Linked DNA regions of Homo sapiens: regions 2, 3, 4, 5, 6 and 7 are each linked to region 1. Evidence: promoter capture Hi-C in 16 types of primary human blood cells and fetal thymus (Javierre and others, 2016). All regions are on one chromosome and are shown on one strand. Each heading gives the region's core, a stretch centred on a gene start or on the middle of the fragment in contact. The rest is flanking DNA. Distances are from core to core; before and after follow the strand shown. Region 1 holds the start of PTDSS1 (phosphatidylserine synthase 1). Region 2 overlaps RIDA (reactive intermediate imine deaminase A). Region 3 has its middle 5.0 kb from the start of INTS8. Region 4 overlaps MTDH (metadherin). Region 5 overlaps INTS8 (integrator complex subunit 8). Region 6 overlaps MTDH (metadherin). Region 7 has its middle 21 kb from the start of MTDH.

Region 1 (2,534 bases), core at 19-2,518:
CCTATGAACCGGTATATATTAGAATGTGTGTGTATGTTTTCCAGGGAATAAGAGAGTTGTGTTATGCTGTGTGAGGTTTATGTGTTTCATTTAACACACAGCAGTTACTATACCCCAGGCACCATTAAAATTGCTGGACAAGATCACATTTCAGCACGTATGTTAGGTAATGAGTGAGCAGGGTATGCACCGCGTGATGTGTGGCGGGCTGGTGTCTGTGCAGCCATGTACACAGATGATGGGTATTGGGCTGTGCTGGAAAGGAAAGGTCCGCTGTGAGGTGTGTGTTTAGAGTGGCAGTTTGTGCCGTGGTACAGATGGTAGTGTTTGAGGCTGGGGGAAGTGTTATGCTGGATGACTTGTGTGCAATGCATACGGGAAGTGCTGCACAGGAAAGACCGTGTATGCAGCACACATGTGCATTTTTTGTGCGTTACGGATAGTGCCGAATACCGGAGTTCCACAGGAAGGGATCTAGGTTGTGTCCTGGGCCTGTGTATGGTGCCTGCAGGCGCTGTGGATTGGGGTGCTTTGTATGTGTAGCGGTGTGTGCTGAAAGTGGTGCATACGACATGATTCATGCGGTGTGCTGGGTAGGGACGAAGGCTGGAGCAGTGCAGAGGAGGGGCCCGCGTCGTGATGTTGTGTGGAGCGATGCTGAGTGCGGTGGGTGAGGGGGCGATCGTGCTAGGTGACTCGCGTGCGTTCCCCGTGTAACCGGAGGCGCTGTATGGAGAAGGGGCACTGAGGGGTAGGGGAGCAGGCTAGCGTACTGTGAGACACCGGGCGGGCGGAGGGGCCGCGTGGGCGGCGGGCTGCCAGTGCGTGTGCGTGGAGCAGCCAGCCCACTTCCTCACCCAGAGCCATGCCGGGCCCCCCTCCCCGCCACCCTCCCTCCCGCCTCTTCCCTAGCCCTTGGACGCGCCCCCCGCTCGGCTGGGCCGCCCCACCTGGTAAAGGCGAAGTACATGAGGCTGACGATGGTGAAGCTGAGCAGGGTGATGGTATGCGGCCGGTAGAAGAAGTCAATGGTGATGTCCTCCACTTGCTGCTCGTTGATCATCCGGAAATGCATTTTGTAGTTCACATCATCCTTGCTTAGGGTCCGGCTCCCCACGCAGGACGCCATGGCCCGCCTCCCCGTCCTGCCGCGGTGGCGGCGGCCCCAGCCCGAGAAGGCCGGGACCCCGGGGGTGACTAGCCACAGTAGGCTAATAGCCGGACGGCAAAGCCGGGTCTGGCGCCCAGCAAAGGCTGGGAGCAGAGGGAAGGACAGGCGCGAGAGGGCGGGGTCGCGGCGCCGCCACCGCGGCCTGGGGCAGGGGACGCCGCCGGCCGTCCCCACGCTGTCATCCTAGCTGAGGCATCTCTACCACTCGAGGAATTTTCAGACTCCAAGTCCACAGGACTTCAGAGGAATAGCGAGCCGGAGAAGGGTAGCCGGGGCCCCTGGCTGGCTCTTTTCAGAGCACGTAGCCCGCTGTCTCCCCGCGTAACCCGGCACATGGTCTCGCCCACTCCGGGCGCGGCCCACGTGGGCCCGGGAGCGCGGCTGCGCTGTGTAGGGCGGGCTGAGGAGCCGGCGTGCGGCGCGGCGGGACGGGACGTGCGGCCCAGCGAGTTGGTCGGTCCCGGGGTCACCCGCTACGGGAAGCAGGCCTCGCCACAGGTAAAGCAGGAGCTGCCCCAGCACGAGGATCGCGCTCCTGGCGAGGGTTCAGGTTCCGGCGCACCCGCGTCCAGACCGCGCCCCAGGGCCTCAAGGGCCTTTAGGTTTTCGCGGCCCAGTAGAGGGTGATTGGTTTTGTTTTGTGTTTTTCCCTGGCTGATGTAGTGAAAACTCAACCATGCTGGCTAATTAGCGCAGTGTGAGAAGCCTCAGGAGGGGGCTCTGCCTTCCTGCGCAAGTTTGGGGAACTGAAGTGGGCTAAAATGGCCTGGGAAGTATTGAGAGACCCTTTATTAGGAAGCTGCCCCCATAACCTCCCTTTCTCTCCTGATTTCATTTATAGCATTTCGTAGGTAGAAATCTTGAACTCTATTTCAGTGCCTTTTTCTAGCGAAGCACTAGGCACTCATTGAGAACAGTATATATGAATTGTTAAGAGACTTCAGTTTCTTTAAGGGTTTTCTGTAATTTTCCTGATGAAAGGACCTTGTTAGAAGACTTCAGGTTACCACCTTACAGGGCTTTTATACACATCTGCACATCCCCTACCCGCTTTTGCATACTGTGTAAGCAAGTGAGTTAACTGTACTTGCCATTGATTTATTTCCATTCCGCAAACATTAGAGCAGTACAAGGCTCTGGGAAAGTGGAGAATAGTCCCCGGAAGGATGGATCCAGGGATGAGACCCAGCTCTGCTCTCGTGCATGAACAGTTAATCAATTGTTAAGATGTGTAGGCAGCAATGAAAGGATGTGGAGAAGATAGTGCACTTGTAAATAAAAATGCAAGGATAAACATTAGTTGTATGCACAAAGATCTTTTAATGACGGGGTGAAATTTGAAAGTGAGTCTTCCTGATGTTTA
Region 2 (2,534 bases), core at 20-2,519, 1.8 Mb before region 1:
TCCACCCACCTCAGCCTCCCAAAGTGCTGAGATTACAGGCATGAGCCTCCACACCCGGCCTAGCTGAAAGATTTTTAAAAACCTAAATATCCACTCATAAAGAACTGGTTGAATAAATTATGCTAGATCAATACAACTAAAGTAATGTGGAAAGATCTCCGAGGTAAATTGTTCCATGGTAATAAAACCAAGATGCAGAACAACATGCACAGTATGCTACCATGTGTGCTTGTGTGTTTAAAAATATGTAACATAAGCATTGACTGTACCTAGAAGGATATACAATAAATTAGGAACAGTGGTTACCTCTGAGGAGGGAAACTTGGGAGAGGGAGAGAGGGGTGAGAGATATCTTTACACGGTATATGCTTTTTTAATAGCTTTTGAGTTTTTTTGTTGTTGTTGTTGCCATATCCATGTATTACCTATTTAGAAGATTATTTTAAAAGACACAAGAATATAATGAAATATTGCATTGTGACCAGCAAAGTGGGAAGAGTGAATCCAAAAAAAGATAAATGTTTTTCCAGAAGCCAGTGTCTCCAACTGTTATATAATTTACTAATATTGTTTTTTTGAGAAAAAGGAAAAAGAACCCTTTGAAGTCAAATATTGCTTTAAAAGAAAATATGTTTTAATGCTTACTAGCTCATCCTTATCCTTGACGTGATATCGAATGAAGAACACCAGAAATTATTTCTGTGGACATTGGCTGAACAATTAACACATTTTAGCACTGAAGAAGGAACTTCAACCTAGTCTTTTTACGCACAAAAGGAGACAACATTTTCACCATATATCAGAAAGACTCATTCTATTAAAGGAAAGCCAAGAAACACACTTGTAAGCGAGTAGGGAGGATTTTTCTGCAACATAGGCTATTTAAGGAGGTATTAGTAAAAGATGATTAATTGAATTTAATTAAAGCTTTAAATCTAACATCAGTGACTTAGGCCTTTCTTGGCTTGGTTCACAGGCTCTTAAAAACATGGGTGAAATTCTGAAAGCTGCAGGCTGTGACTTCACTAACGGTGAGCAATTTGATATTATTTCACATTTCTTTTTGATATTTCTTTGGTCTTTTTGAAAAATATATGGCATCCAGTAAGATGCCGTGCCATATCTTTGTTGCTATTTAAAAGTTGTTTTAAATAGCAACTGTTCTACTTCACTTCTTTGGTCCCATTTCAGTCCCATTTTAATCAAGACAGTCTCAGATTCATACACTCTTTTTCTAAGTAATGTTTTGGGTCAGACCAAATAACTAAACCTAATGACAATGTTTATATCTTCTAGTGGTGAAAACAACTGTTCTTCTGGCTGACATAAATGACTTCAATACTGTCAATGAAATCTACAAACAGTGTAAGTAATTTGGCTTTATTCCTATTTTCCATTTTTAAAAAGAAAGAAATCTGGTCACATTAATGAATGTGCATTATGAATTAAGAGTGGTAGGAGATGCTAAAGAAATGGTCATAGATCTTAAAAGAATTAATAATCTGATTGGAAATATGTTGTATACCCCCCATGAAAAAGTTCTAAGACATTTCTATTGCATTCCCTAAAACAATATACTGAAATCCTACATATCCATTTTTCAAAAGCTTAATTTCATTAAATCCTTCTCAGGCTTTTTAAACTCTCCTAACAAGTTTTTTATGCATAGATTTTATTTACTGTGGCTGTATGGTGCAGCCACCATCTTTATCCTGGCTCTCTCAGACTCATTAGTTAGTTACTTAATATTTCTATGCCTTGGTTTTCTCATATGCAAAATGGAGATAATATACTCCTAACTTATAGGGTTGTTGGAATGATTAAATGAGTCAGTACAACATGTAAAGCACTTAGATGCTGGTGTGTTATAAGCACTGAGTAAATGTTAGCTATTATTAACATTGATGTTATAGTAGGGAAAATTGGTGTCCCCAACACCTAATGGGATGAGGCAAAGGTATAACTTGGAAAAAGCATCGTTACTTATTCTCTCCTGAAGAAATTATTAGAAAAGACCAAAGTTGGCAGAGGAAGTACTTGCCAAAATTTCTGGAGATGGGCACTTGTTCCCTATTTAGATAAATAGTTTATAAATATCACTTTAAAAACAAAACTCCATTCACATCAAACAAGATCAAAATGTTAGGGTATGTATTTCTTTTTTTTTTTTTTTTTTTTTTTTGCCAGAAAGCTAAGAGATTTTAAAAAGTATTAACTATCATAGGAATCATATGGCAAAATATTTTATCAAACAAATCTGATAGTGAGCCTCTTTTTTAAAATGTTGCTTAAGGCCAGGAGCAGTGGCTCACACCTATAATCCCAGCACTTTGAGAGGCTGAGGTGGGTGGATCACTTGACATTAGGAGTTTGAGACCAGTCTGGCCAACATGGTGAAGCCCCGACTCTACTAAAAATACAAAAATGAGCCAGGCATGGTGGTGCACACCTGTAATCCCAGCTACTCGGGAGGCTGAGGCAGGAGAATCTCTTGAACATGGGAGACAGAGGTTGCAGTAAGCTGAGATCGCATC
Region 3 (2,534 bases), core at 9-2,508, 1.4 Mb after region 1:
TCCAAGAGAAAGGAGAAAATGTACCCACACAAAGACTTGAATGTTTAGAACAGCAGTATCTACAGTAGCCTAAAAGTAGAAACCAAGGTCTATAACCTGGTGAATAGACAAATAAAATGTGACATACTCATTGTATCTGTTTCAAGTGGCTGCTGTAACAAATTACCACAAACTTTGTGGTTTAAAACAACAGAAACTGGCCGAGTGCAGTGGCTCACGCCTGTAATCCCAGCACTTTGGGAGGCTGAGGTGGAGAGTCCAGGAATTCAAGACGTATCTGGGCAGCATAGTGAGACTTCTGTCTCTACAAAAAAATCAAAATAAAAAATAAGGCTGGGATGGTGGTGTGCGTCTGTAGTCCTGGCTATGTGGGAAACTGAGGTGGGAGGATTGCTTGAGCCCAAGAGGATGAGGCTACAGTGAGCCGAGATTGCACCACTGCACTCAGGTGGGTGACAGAGTGAGACCCTGTCTCAAAAAAAAAAAAAAAAAGAAAAGAAAGAAAGAATGAGAACAGACTGTGGTCATTCAGACTTGGGTATTTAGCAGACATTTTCTTGAACAAAGTGAGCCTGTCATGTCACTTTATGGAAAACAACTAACACCATTTGTGGCGAATAATAACATTCAATTTTTTTTTTTTTTTTTTGAGATGGAGTTTTGCTCTTGCTGCCCAGGCTGGAGTGCAATGGTGCTATCACCGCTCACTGCAACCTCCACCTCTCAGGTTCAAGCGATTCTCCTGCCTCAGCCTCCCGAATAGCTGGGATTACAGGCACTGCCACCACCACACCTGGCTAATTTTTCTATTTTTAGTAGAGATGGGGTTTCACCATGTTGGCCAGACTGGTCTTGAACTCCTGACCTCAAGTGATCCTCCCACCTTGGCCTCCCAAAGTGCTGGGATTACAGACATGAGCCACCGCTCCTGGCCAACATTCAACTTTTTAAGTAAAATTAGAATTTTAGAAAACTGTAAACTTGGCAGCTTCCCAATACTTGACAAGACTTTTCTGATGACACCAATGGCGATATTAACAAATGTATATTTAAATGTGTCAACTTTCAGATGATCATCACAACTTGACAAATCAATCAATATTTTCCTAATATATGGCTAAAAGATTTATTTAAATTCCAAGACAAGCCGAGCACAGTGGCTCATGCCTGTAATCCCAACACTTTGGGAGGCAGGGGCAGGATGATCACTTGAAACCAGGAGTTGGAGACTGCAGCGAGCTATGATCATGCCACTGTACTCCAGTCTGGGTGACAGAGCGAGACCCTGCCTCTTAAAAGTAAATAAATAAAAAATTTCAGCTGGGCACGGTGGCTCATGCCTGTAATCCCAGCACTTTGGGAGGCCGAGGTGGGAGGATGACGAGGTCAGGAGTTTGGACCAGCCTGGCCAACGTGATCAAACCCTGTCTCTATTAAAAATACAAAAATTAGCTGGCATGGTGGCAGGTGCCTGTAATCCTAGCTACTCAGGAGTCTGAAGCAGGAGAATAGCTTGAACCCGGGAGGCAGAGGTTGCAGTGAGCAGAAATCGCATCACTGTACTCCAGCCTGGGCGACAGAGCAAGACTCCATCTCAAAACAAAACAAAACAAAAAATTTCAAGACAGACTGATGAATTGTAATGGAACGGAATTTGAAAAGTTAATTGGTATGATTTCAGATTTAAAATTGCAGCTAATCTTTAAGAAACAACCACTTTCTCAGGTTTTGGTGAAGAAAGTCCATAATTATCCGAAAAGATATAAAATACTTCTTTTTTTAACTACTCATCTATGTGAGCAATGCCACTCTTCTAGTTTTTAAAATGAAAATAGTTATTTTATATAAAATTGTATTTGTCAGCATGTAATAGGATTATTTTTATTTTTATATGATTATTTTATTTTAATTTAAATAAATTAAATATTTTTAAAACTTCTCAGTGTTAATTTTTAATATGGTAAATATAAACAAACACTCTTTTAAGTGCTTAATAATTTTTTGGTCTAACAGGGCCCTGAGACTAAAAAATCTGAGAAACTATTTTATTGAGGCATGCACATCAAAATCCTACTGTGTTTGGCTCTGAAGAGAAGAGGGAAGGAGGATAGAACAGGGGTGGGTTAGAGAAGGGGAGAGGAGAGGTGAATGGGGGGAAGGAGTGGGGGAGGGGGGTCACAGGTACTTCAACTTTATCTGTATTTTTTTTTTTTGAGACAGAGTCTTGCTCTGTTGCCCAGGCTGGAGTGCAATGGTGCGCTCTTGGCTCGCTGCAACCTCCACCTCCCAGGTTCAAGTGATTCTCCTACCTCAGCCTCCAGAGTAGCTGGGATTACAGGCACGCCACCATGCCTGGCTAATTTTTGTATTTTTAGTAGAGACAGGTTACACTATGTCGACCGGGCTGGTCTCGAACTCCTGACCTCAGGTGATCTACCCGCCTCAGCCTCCCAAAGTGCTGGGATTACAGACGTGAGCCACCGCACCCCGTTCTGGTTTTTGTTTGTTTGTTTTGTGATGGTATCTCTCTGTTG
Region 4 (2,534 bases), core at 13-2,512, 1.4 Mb before region 1:
TTACCATAGCCGCTCTTAAGTAAAGGTAACATATTGAACATCTGTCAACTACAGTTGAGCAGAGGCAGCAAACTTTTTCTGCAAAGGATCAAATAGTAAATATGTTAGGCTTTGCAAGCCACAGGGTTTTGGAGCAACCACAGAACTCTGCTCATATAGCATGAAAGCAGCCACATACAATTTATAAACAAAGGGGTGTGACTATGTTCCAATAAAATTTTATTTACAAAAACAGGCATCTGTCTGGATTTGGGGTGTCAGAGTTTGCTATCCTTGGTCTAGAGCAGTGCTGGCCAACAGAAATATAATGCAAACCACATATATATTTTTAAAAATTTCTAGTAGACACATTTTTAAGTTAAAATAGGTGACAATTTTAACACAACGTATCTATAATACTGTCATTTCAACATGGAACTCATATAAAAAAAGCAACACAATAAGATAGTATGTAAAAGAAAACAAAGTAAGTCTTCGAAATCTGGCATGTATTTTACACTTAACAGCAATCTCAATTTGGACTAGTCGTTTTTTTTTTTTTTTTGAGAAGGAGTTTTTCACTCTTGTTGCCCAGGCTGGAGTGCAATGGCGCGATCTCAGTTCACCGCAACCTCTGCCGCCTGGGTTCAAGCGATTCTCCTGCCTCCTGGGTTCAAGCGATTCTCCTGCCTCAGCCTCCTGAGAAGCTGGGATTACAGGCATGCGCTACCATGCCCAGCTAATTTTGTATTTTTAGTAGAGATGGGGTTTTTCCATGTTGGTCAGAGTGGTCTCAAACTTCCAACCTCAGGTGATCCACCCGCCTCGGCCTCCCAAAATGCTGGGATTACAGGCGTGACCACAGCGCCCGGCCGGACTAGTCACATTTTAAGTGCTCAATATCCACACGTGGCAAGTGGCCACTATACTGGACAGTGCAGGTCCACAGGAACTAAAGTAGGTATCCCCATTTTACACATAGAAACTGAGGCCATAAAAAGTGTTTAAGATTGCTGAGTGCGGTGGTTTACACCTGTAATCCCAGCAATTTGGAAGGTTGAGGTGGGAGGATCACTTGAGCTCAGGAGTATGAGACCAGCCAGGGCAACACACAGGGAGATTCTCTCTCTTAAAAAAAAAAAATCAGTGGGGGTGGCGGCATGCAACTGTGGTTCCAGCTACTTGGGAGGCTGAGGTGGGAGGATCACTCAAGCCTGGGAGGTTGAGGCTGAAGTGAGCTGTGATCATGTCACTGTATTCCAGCCTGGGTAACGGGGTGAGACCCTGTCTCAAAAAAACTCCAAAAAACAAACAAACAAAAAACAAAGAAAAGTGTCTAAGAGGCTGGGCGTGGTGGCTCACGCCTGTAACCCCAGCACTTTGGGAGGCTGAGGCGGGCAGATCCTGAGCTTAGGAGATCGAGACCATCCTGGCTAACATGGTGAAACCCATCTCTACTAAAAATACAAAAAATTAGCCAGGTGTGGTGGCACGTGCCTGTAGTCCCAGCTACTCGGGAGGCTGAGGCAGTAGAATCGCTTGAATCTGGGAGGCAGAGGTTGCAGTGAGCTGAGATCGCTCCACTGCACTCCAGCCTGGGTGACAGAGAGAGACTCCATCTCAAAAAAAAAAAAAAAAAAAAAAAAAAAAAAAAAAAAAGTGTCTAAGAGCATCATAGGGTAAAGTGGTGAAACTAGGACTAAATTCCAGTTCTGATCCACTTTACCCTTGCAAATAACCTCTTATTTAGTCTCCCCACATTTAACTCTAAATACAAATTTAATCATACATTAGCTATGTGACTTTGGGCTAAATCATTCTAAACCCTGTTCCCCACCCGTCATATGGACAAAAATTCCTACTAACCTCATATAAGGTTATTTTAAGAATTAAAACAAAAGGTGAAAAGAGTCTGTTAACGACAAAGTAGTATATATAAATAAGATTTTTTTTTAAGAAGGGAGACTTTGAAAAAATAATAGAAATTATGTTTACAAGGAAATATCTGGGGATTTGTAACTAAAAATCTGTAGAAAAAGATTATCTTAGATTAGGCTTAAATATTATTTGATATTACTACTGCCTTTAAAAGTAATTAACAAAAGGCCAGGTGCGGTGGCTCACGCCTGTGATCCCAGCACTTTGGGAGGCCAAGGCAGGCAGATCACCTGAGGTCAGGAATTTGAAACCAGCCTTGGCCAACATGGTGAAACCCTGTCTCTACTAAAAATAATAAAAATTAGCCAGGCGTGGTGGCGGGCGCCTATAATCCCAGCTACTCGGGAGGCTGAGGCAGGAGAATCGCTTGAACCTGGGAGGCGGAGGTTGCAGTGAGCCAAGACCACACCATTACACTCCAGCCTGGGCGACAGGGCAAGACTCCATCTCAAAAAAAAAAAAAAAAAAAAAAAAAAAAAAAAAAAATATATATATATATATATATATATATATATATATATATATATATATATATAAAGTAATTAACAAGAACACCCATCCCGATAAGATTAAATAAAATAATAGCTTATGAAAAACTTTAAAATAAATATGTGATA
Region 5 (2,534 bases), core at 13-2,512, 1.4 Mb after region 1:
CAAAGACCTAAACGTGAAAGGAAGGCTATGCTATAAAGCTTTTAGAAGATAATAATAGAAGAATATCTTCATGACACAATAGGAAAAAGCTTTCTTAAACAACACACAGAAATCACTACAACGGAAAAAAATCGGTAAATTTGATATTAAATTTAGGAGCTTTGGAACAATATAAAGAAAACTAAGCTGGGCGTGGTGGCTCATGCCTGTAATCACAGCACTTTGGGAAGCCAAGGTGAGTGGATCACCTGAGCTCAACAGTTCGAGCCCAGCCTGGACAACGTGACAAAACCCCATCTTTACCAAAAATAAAAAAAATTAGCCAGGCGTGGTGGCACATGCCTGTAGTCCCAGCTACTCAGGAGGCTGAGGTGGGAGGATGGCTTGAACCCAGGAGGTGGAGGTTACAGTGAACTGAGATCACAGCACTGCACTCCAACTGGGTGATAGAGTGAGACCCGTCTCAAACAAAAAAAAAAAAAAAAGAAAAACTAAAAGTCAAACTCAGTGAAGATATCTGCAATATTTAAAATTGGTAAAAAAGAGAATATATATAGATCTCCTACAAAAAAGAAAGCTCCTTCCAAAGAACAGACAATATAATAGAAAAATGAGACATAACATGGCCGGGCACGGCTCATGCCTGTAATCCCAGGACTTTGGGAGGCTAAAGTGGGTGGATCACTTGAGGTCAGGAGTTCAAGACCAGCCTGGCCAAAATGGCAAAACCCCGTCGCTACTAAAAATACAAAAATTAGCAGGGCGTGGTGGTGGGCACCTGTAATCCCAGCTACTCCGGAGGCTGAGGCCGGAGAATCACTTGAAACTGGGAGGTGGAGGTTGCAGTGAGCTGAAATTGTACCACTGCACTCCAGCCTGGGCAACAAGAGCAGAACTCTGGCCAGGCACGGTGGCTCACACCTGTAATCCTATCACTTTGGAAGGCCAAGGCAGGCAGATAACCTGAGGTCAGGAGTTTGAGCCCAGCCAGGCCAACATGGCAAAACCCTGTCTCTACTAAAAATACAAAAATTAGCCAGGCGTGGTAGCGCACGCCCGTAGTCCTAGCTACTCAGGAGGCTGAGGCAGGAGAATCGCTTGAACCTGGGAGGCGGAGGTTGCAGTGAGCCGAGATCACGCCACTGCACTAAAGCCTGGCCAGGCAACAGAGGGGGCCCCATCTCAAAAAATAAAAAAATAAAAAAAAAAAAGCAGAACTCTATCTCAAAAAAAAAAAGAGGCATAACACTTGGAAAAGGTACCTCAAAAAACAAAATCCATGAGTAAAAATTAAATGAAGAGTTGTAGAAATGAAAACCTCAATGAGGTACTGTTATACAACCACCTCACAGGCGATCTGACAATATCAAATGTTAACAAGGATGTTGACTGATGAGAACACTCAGGCATGCTGGTGGTTATAAGCCACTTGGTTTTTAAAAATTAATGTTGCAGATATATTATTCCCTAGGTATGTAACATAAACTGGTACGTATGCACACCTAGATATATGTACAAGTATGTTCCAAGCGGCAAAAACTATAAACAACACAAATGTCCCTCCATCATATGTGTATACAGCCAAAAACTATAAAACACACAAATGTCCCCCATCATAAGACTGAAGAAATTGTGGCGTGGTCCATATAATATTCTAACTTTTTTTTTTTTGAGATGGAGTCTCTCACTGTTGCCCAGGCTGGAGTGCAGTGGCGTAATCTCCACTCATTGAAACCTCTGCCTCCTAGTTTCAAGCGATTCTCCTGCCTCAGCCTCCCAAGTAGCTGGGATTACAGGCACTTGCCAGCACGCTCGGCTAATTTTTTGTATTTTTAGTAGAGACGGAGTTTCACTATGTTTACCAGGCTGGTCTTGAACTCCTGACCTTGTGATCCACTCGCCTTGGCCTCCCAAAGTGCTGAGATTACAGGTGTGAGCCACTGCACCCAGGCTCTAACACCTTAAAGCAATGAAAAAAATTGTTATTTATATACAACTTGAATAAATCTCACAAATAAATCTCTTTAGTGAAAGAAGATGATGAATACACATTGTATGATTCCATTTATATGAAGTTCAAAATAGGCAAATTAAAGAATGTTCTTTAAGGATACATACAGAGGTGATACAAATATAAAAGAAAGCAAGAAAATTATGATCACAAAAGCCAGGGCAGTAGCTACCTCAAGGGAAGGTAGAGGAGGTTGTAAAGACCACAACAAAGGCTTCTAGAGTGCTGGCAACGTTGTATTTTTGGAAGTAAGTGGTATTATCTGTGCTTTATGTACTTCTCTCAATGTCTCTAACATTAAGACTGTTAAGAAAGAAGTAGAGTGATCCAGTAGAAACACAGATTCCACAGCACACATGACAGACAAGAGGCTTGATTTGGGAGTTCTTAGTAAACAGGTGATGAAACAGATGAGTGAAGCTTTGGAAGTAAATAAAAAATGATGAGTGAGCCAAGGACAAAAGTTCTATGAACAGAAATACTAAAGGAAGAGCAATAGAGAAGTCAATGAAGGACTAAGGAG
Region 6 (2,534 bases), core at 13-2,512, 1.4 Mb before region 1:
AAGATAAAGGCAAGAAATTAGGAAATTCAGAAGAGGCATCATTGTAGTTGATAAGTTAGACTATAAGACAGTCTTAACAATAATAATTTCCAAGTACTTGCTAGACACATTACACGCATTATCTCATTTAATGGACAAGACCTAGTTTTGGTAAGTTTGTTTTAGTTCTGAAACGTTCTTACACAAATTCAAGATGGAACAATTTCTTGTCAGTTTGTTTGAAAGTAAAAACATTTTCCCCTGCCAAATGTTATGCACACAGCAACTACATAAACTAAACATACACATAAACCATAGCTTTAGACACAGTTCAACCCCAATTTCAAACTCTTAATAACTGAGAGAACAATCTTACAAATATAACCTATGGTTCAAATTTGCAAAATCTCACTATATACTGAGATATTTCCTTTAGTGGTAAAGATCCCTGTGCTTTCTAAACAGCCAAAAATTCAACTCAGGATTCCAAACTGTCTCCTTGTTGACTACAGCAGGGATGCTCAGGGTTACCTTTATGAGATGGGGAGATGGTAATAACTGTCACATGGCCAAGATATGCCAAAGATGATTTCTGAAAAACTAAATACAAGCATTGGTTTTCAATATTTTACATCTGATGGGTATGATAAGGACTACAAATGATACAGCAAATACACATCTGTATAATTCTTTCTTAGAAGAAAAATGTCTAAGACATTCTGACGGATGCCTTCTGGGAAGCCTGGCATTCCATGGAGCAGTTTGAAAACTACTAGCATAGCTGGAGAGAAAAACAAGTGCATTTTAAAACTGATCAAATAACACCAATTCCTCACTTATATCTCTGAATTTTGCTTGAATAATAATTTAAAAATACTCTCAAGGCTTTTACAGCCTTGAGAAATAGTACACTAACCAGTAATGCCAAAGCACAACAAAAATGAATGTTCATAGGGTTTATTGTTGTTCTTGGTATCTAAGATGGGCACAACTACTAAAGGTCTTTTCTGTCAGAACTGTTAAAGGTCTTTTACGTTAGGCCTCTGGCAGAATGAAAAGAAAAGATGAAAAAATCCTGTCACATAACCAAACAAATGGAGCCAAAATTCTGGAGCTTTTGTAAGGTCATTATAATTTTCAGCAGAAACTTCTGACTCGAAATTTTAAAAGCAATAAAGCCATAACTCACTGGGAAAACTCTATTTGTTCTCTGAATGCAATTTAATATCCTGGAACATGCCATCGAAACCAGAGAGGTAGAGTGGAAATAACAAAGTTCTTAGACTAGAAATTAGGATATTGTTTTGCCTTTTAAACTCCTTTGTCCTATGACCTTGAATAAGTCAGTTAATTTTTCTGAATCTCAAGATTTCTCTTCTGTAAAATCATGAATATTTGTTTTACTTATAATTTGGATTTTTTTGAGCAAATGATTATTCTTTTTTTTTTTTTCTTTTTTTGAGACAGAGTCTCGCTCTGTCGCCAGGCTAGAGTACAGTGGTGCGATCTCGGCTCACTGCAACCTCCGCCTCCCGGGTTCAAGCGATTCCCCTGTCTCAGCCTCCTGAGTAGCTGGGACTATAGGTGCACGCCACCATGCCTGGCTGATTTTTGTAGTTTTAGTAGAGATGGGGTTTCACCATGTTGGCCAGGATGGTCTCAATCTCCTGACCTGGTGGTCCGCCCGAAGTACTGGGATTACAGGTGTGAACCACCGCACCTGGCTGATTATTCTCTTAAGAATTAAAACTGACAAAGAGTGACTTAAAGGTAAAAAGAAAACTCTATAGGTGGCAAGTGATATAACTTTTTTAATATTACCAGCAAAACTATTACCTAAGAATAAAAAAACACAATTCTACTGGGAATATATTAAGAGATAAATTTATTTAACTCAATAACAGATTATCCAATTAACTGTGAGATGTTATTTTAGTCACTTTGTTCAGCTTTTAGTTCAACAAATAATTACCAAAGGCACTTATACGCCAGGCAGTTTGCCACCGGTTTACAATCTGGGGAGGGAGAGAACCCAAAAAAGTAAATGGGTAAGTAAACAAATAATGTACAAACTGTAATAACCACTATGAAGGAAACATCTAAGGGGTTGAGACAGAAAATAGAAAGGGATGTCTATTTCACATAGGGTGATCAGGAAAGGATTTTCGGGGAAGGTGACTTTTAAGGTGAAAACTAAAGGCTGAGGAGAATAGTGGGGGAAAGATTGTTCCAAAAGTGTTAATAATAGCTCATGTAAAGGCGCTGGGTTGTGAAAGAGTTTCAAGAACTGAACAGCAAATGACAGGAAACTCACACAAATTCAGCTTAGAATGAAAAGCAGGTGCTGGGCCATACGGGCCATGGAAAGAGATTTAGATTTTAAATGCAAAAGCTACTAAGTGTTGGTTTTAGGCAGCATAGTGATTTGCTTTGAAAAAACTCATTACTAGTGCGTTGAGAAAGGACTGGATGCAGTAAAAGGAAGGCTACTGCTGCAGGTTAGGGGAGCTAAGGTGACACTAGAAAAAGTAGTCAGATTGAATATATATTTTGGA
Region 7 (2,534 bases), core at 11-2,510, 1.4 Mb before region 1:
CCACACGGTCCCTTGCAAGGTGACAGGCCGCTGCGGCTCTGTGCTGGTGCACCTCATCCCTGCACCCGGGGCGCTGGCATCGCCTCGACCCCAGTAGCTAAGAAGCTGCTGATGATGGCCGGTATCCATGACTGCCACACCTCAGCTGGGAGCTGCAATGCCACCCTGGGCAACTTCGCCAAGGCCACCTTTGATGCCATCTCCAAGACCTACAGCTACCTGACCCCCGACCTCTGGAAGGAGACTGTATTCACCAAGTCTCCCTATCAGGAATTCACTGACCACCTTGTCAAGACCCACGCCAGAGTCTACGTGCAGAGGACCCAGGCTCCAGCTGTGGCTACAACATAAGGTTTTTATACAAGTAAAATAAAGCGAATTAAGCCTGTTTAAAAAAAGTGTAGTCCAACAAAACTGTTCAGTTATAAAGTCAACAAGCAAGCTTTCTCAAATATGAAAAGACAGAGGGAAAGTAGTACTTAGAATCTAGTGTGTAAAAGATATAGAAGTAAGCCTTTCATGAACAAAACCATTGGACATTGAAATCCAGCCAAAGAAATGAATCAAAATCAAGAATGTAGGAGTGGTAAAAGAACTGGAAATGAGCATTAGACGCTTTTAAAAATAGAACAAAAACTAAGTAACTAGGGGTATCATAATTACAGAACATGATGTGATGGCTTATAACCTGGCAAAGTAAAATATATTATAATTAATGAGAAGAGAAATGGAGGAAAATGTAGGTAGGAGAAATTGTTAAGAGTGTAATCACTTCATCTTTCATAGCAGGGAGTCAACCCATGCTGTCTAAAATTAAACCATGTAGTTAAGAAAAAAATAAAAACATTTCCGGATCTTTGATTATTTTAATAATCTCTTTGCTTAACCTGAGAGCCAGAGAGGAGAGCCAGCATCTGTGTGCCAGATTTGCATACAGCTGTGTTTTGGTTTTGTATGACCAGATCAATGTTTTCAAATATCTTAAAATCTGAATGTCTTTAGGTGGGAGTGCACTTGCCTGTTAACTTCATTTTATACATTTGTATTTCACACATTGAAGGGCCTGCCCGGCCTTGTCTTTAGAGGACTCTTTGGCAACTAATATCTTCTATGATGAAGAATCATTTATCTGAAATTCAGTAATTCTTGGAGTAAGATGAAATAATTGACCAATAGATACATTCCTCTTATTTTTTGTGTGAAATATCTTTTTCTCTGGCTTAACAAATGGAATGTTTCTCGTGCATTATAATGACAGTAATCTGTCTCCTAGCAAAGCCAGACACTGCTGCCTCCATCCTTTTCTTAAATTGGCTGTGCCCTGGCCTTTGACTCCAGTGCACGCATGAGTGATGCACAGAGAGTGATTTTCCTGAGAGATCCCTTTCATTGGGTAGGTGCCTCCGGGGAGGCTTCTCCTTACACGTCTTACTCTATTTAAAGCCTTGGGGACTTAGCTGTTGTCACCTTCTAGCTATTTCTTTGGCTCAAATTTAACTTTCAGTCCTTTAAACAGACTAAGGATTGGGACTGAAAGGGAGCCAGAAGAAACAGCTGATTGGCTGTGCAGGTCTTGTTCGGGTGTTCTGACCCTGGCTGGAGAGGCTGAGCTGGTCATTCTGAGAGCAACTGCGAGGGCAGCCTGAGTCTGCTCTGACGCTTTAGAAGGGACAGCGGATGGACATTGGAAGGACTGGTATTCCAGCAGGAGACCAAAGATTGGGCATTGCAAAGAGAACTGCAGAACTCTCTTAAGATAGTATTTCCACATAAAGGTACTGTATTAGTTCTTTAGGGAGCTGCTGAAGACAAAATAGATACCGCCTTAAAAAAGCAAAACAAACCTTTTATTTAAATTAAATTTTGTAATAATCAAGAGAGAGATGCCTGTCACACTTAGATTTTGAATTTTTAAATGTTTCCATAATTAGAAGGCATTTCGTGGGAAGGAATAAAGGCTGGATTGTGTGATGGTGGCTGTGAGAATGGGATAGGAAGGGTAGAGATGAGCTCTGTGAAAGAAAGAACCAAAGTTTGGTTGTTGATTGGATATGAGAACAGAGAAGGATTCAAGCTTGATTACCTGAATGGCAGGTAATATTATTATTATTATTATTTTTGAGACAGAGTTTGGCTCTTGTTGCCCAGGCTGGAGTGCAATGGCGCGATCTTGGCTCACTGCAACCTCCATCTCCTGGGTTCAAGTGATTCTCCTGCCTCAGCCTCCCAAGTAGCTGGGATTACAGGCATGCACCACCACGCCTGGCTAATTTTGTATTTTTAGTAGAGACAGGATTTCACCATGTTGATCAGGCTGGTCTCCAACTCCTGACCTCAAGCAATCCACCCACCTCAGCCTCACAAAGTGCTGGGATTACAGGTGTGAGCCACTGCACCTGGCCCCAGTAATATTATTAACTATGGGTAAGCCAAGGGGCTCACACCAAGGTGTTCTCATTGGCTTGCTTCTTGCTTTCACAGGTAATATCATTACAGTCAGAGAATTTCCTCAGTAAGGTGATTTTATTCTGTCT

Evidence for each region. The method cuts DNA at HindIII sites, captures the fragments that hold promoters and counts their contacts. A CHiCAGO score of 5 or more calls a contact.
Region 2: a contact is called between a fragment that was not itself captured here and the fragment with the promoter of PTDSS1 in region 1, in 1 of 17 cell types (non-activated CD4 T cells). The highest score is 5.9, in non-activated CD4 T cells.
Region 3: a contact is called between a fragment that was not itself captured here and the fragment with the promoter of PTDSS1 in region 1, in 1 of 17 cell types (fetal thymus). The highest score is 6.4, in fetal thymus.
Region 4: a contact is called between a fragment that was not itself captured here and the fragment with the promoter of PTDSS1 in region 1, in 4 of 17 cell types (total B cells, naive B cells, M0 macrophages and 1 more). The highest score is 8.1, in total B cells.
Region 5: a contact is called between a fragment that was not itself captured here and the fragment with the promoter of PTDSS1 in region 1, in 1 of 17 cell types (activated CD4 T cells). The highest score is 5.7, in activated CD4 T cells.
Region 6: a contact is called between a fragment that was not itself captured here and the fragment with the promoter of PTDSS1 in region 1, in 13 of 17 cell types (activated CD4 T cells, total B cells, total CD4 T cells and 10 more). The highest score is 11.6, in activated CD4 T cells.
Region 7: a fragment that was not itself captured here is called in contact with the fragment with the promoter of PTDSS1 in region 1 in 5 of 17 cell types (activated CD4 T cells, total CD8 T cells, total B cells and 2 more); the score reaches 9.3 in activated CD4 T cells.

What each region holds. Positions count from the first base shown.
Region 1 is chr8:96,260,636-96,263,169 of GRCh38, reverse strand. PTDSS1 (phosphatidylserine synthase 1) reads right to left here and starts at 1,268. Exons shown (of 13, transcript NM_014754.3): 1 at 951-1,268. The coding sequence starts at 1,129. It overlaps MTERF3 (mitochondrial transcription termination factor 3), which reads left to right and starts at 1,560. Exons shown (of 8, transcript NM_015942.5): 1 at 1,560-1,669. RefSeq lists enhancers at 343-582, 728-1,420, 1,903-1,962, 2,114-2,534 and silencers at 733-912, 963-1,332, 1,513-1,662, 1,415-1,739. The HindIII fragment of the contact is 8,922 bases long and covers 1-2,534 here.
Region 2 is chr8:98,104,769-98,107,302 of GRCh38, reverse strand. It overlaps RIDA (reactive intermediate imine deaminase A), which reads left to right. Exons shown (of 6, transcript NM_005836.3): 3 at 977-1,031; 4 at 1,297-1,365. Among named protein-coding and RNA genes, the nearest start is that of RIDA, 11 kb to the left of the region's middle. The HindIII fragment of the contact is 680 bases long and covers 930-1,609 here.
Region 3 is chr8:94,817,010-94,819,543 of GRCh38, reverse strand. No RefSeq gene overlaps it. Among named protein-coding and RNA genes, the nearest start is that of INTS8, 5.0 kb to the left of the region's middle. The HindIII fragment of the contact is 7,350 bases long and covers 1-2,534 here.
Region 4 is chr8:97,682,150-97,684,683 of GRCh38, reverse strand. The region is part of intron 2 of MTDH (metadherin); the gene reads right to left. Among named protein-coding and RNA genes, the nearest start is that of MTDH, 39 kb to the right of the region's middle. The HindIII fragment of the contact is 5,003 bases long and covers 1-2,534 here.
Region 5 is chr8:94,842,704-94,845,237 of GRCh38, reverse strand. The region is part of intron 10 of INTS8 (integrator complex subunit 8); the gene reads right to left. Among named protein-coding and RNA genes, the nearest start is that of INTS8, 21 kb to the right of the region's middle. The HindIII fragment of the contact is 2,342 bases long and covers 92-2,433 here.
Region 6 is chr8:97,652,023-97,654,556 of GRCh38, reverse strand. The region is part of intron 1 of MTDH (metadherin); the gene reads right to left. Among named protein-coding and RNA genes, the nearest start is that of MTDH, 9.1 kb to the right of the region's middle. The HindIII fragment of the contact is 3,974 bases long and covers 1-2,534 here.
Region 7 is chr8:97,622,020-97,624,553 of GRCh38, reverse strand. It overlaps the pseudogene RPS2P33. Among named protein-coding and RNA genes, the nearest start is that of MTDH, 21 kb to the left of the region's middle. The HindIII fragment of the contact is 1,632 bases long and covers 445-2,076 here.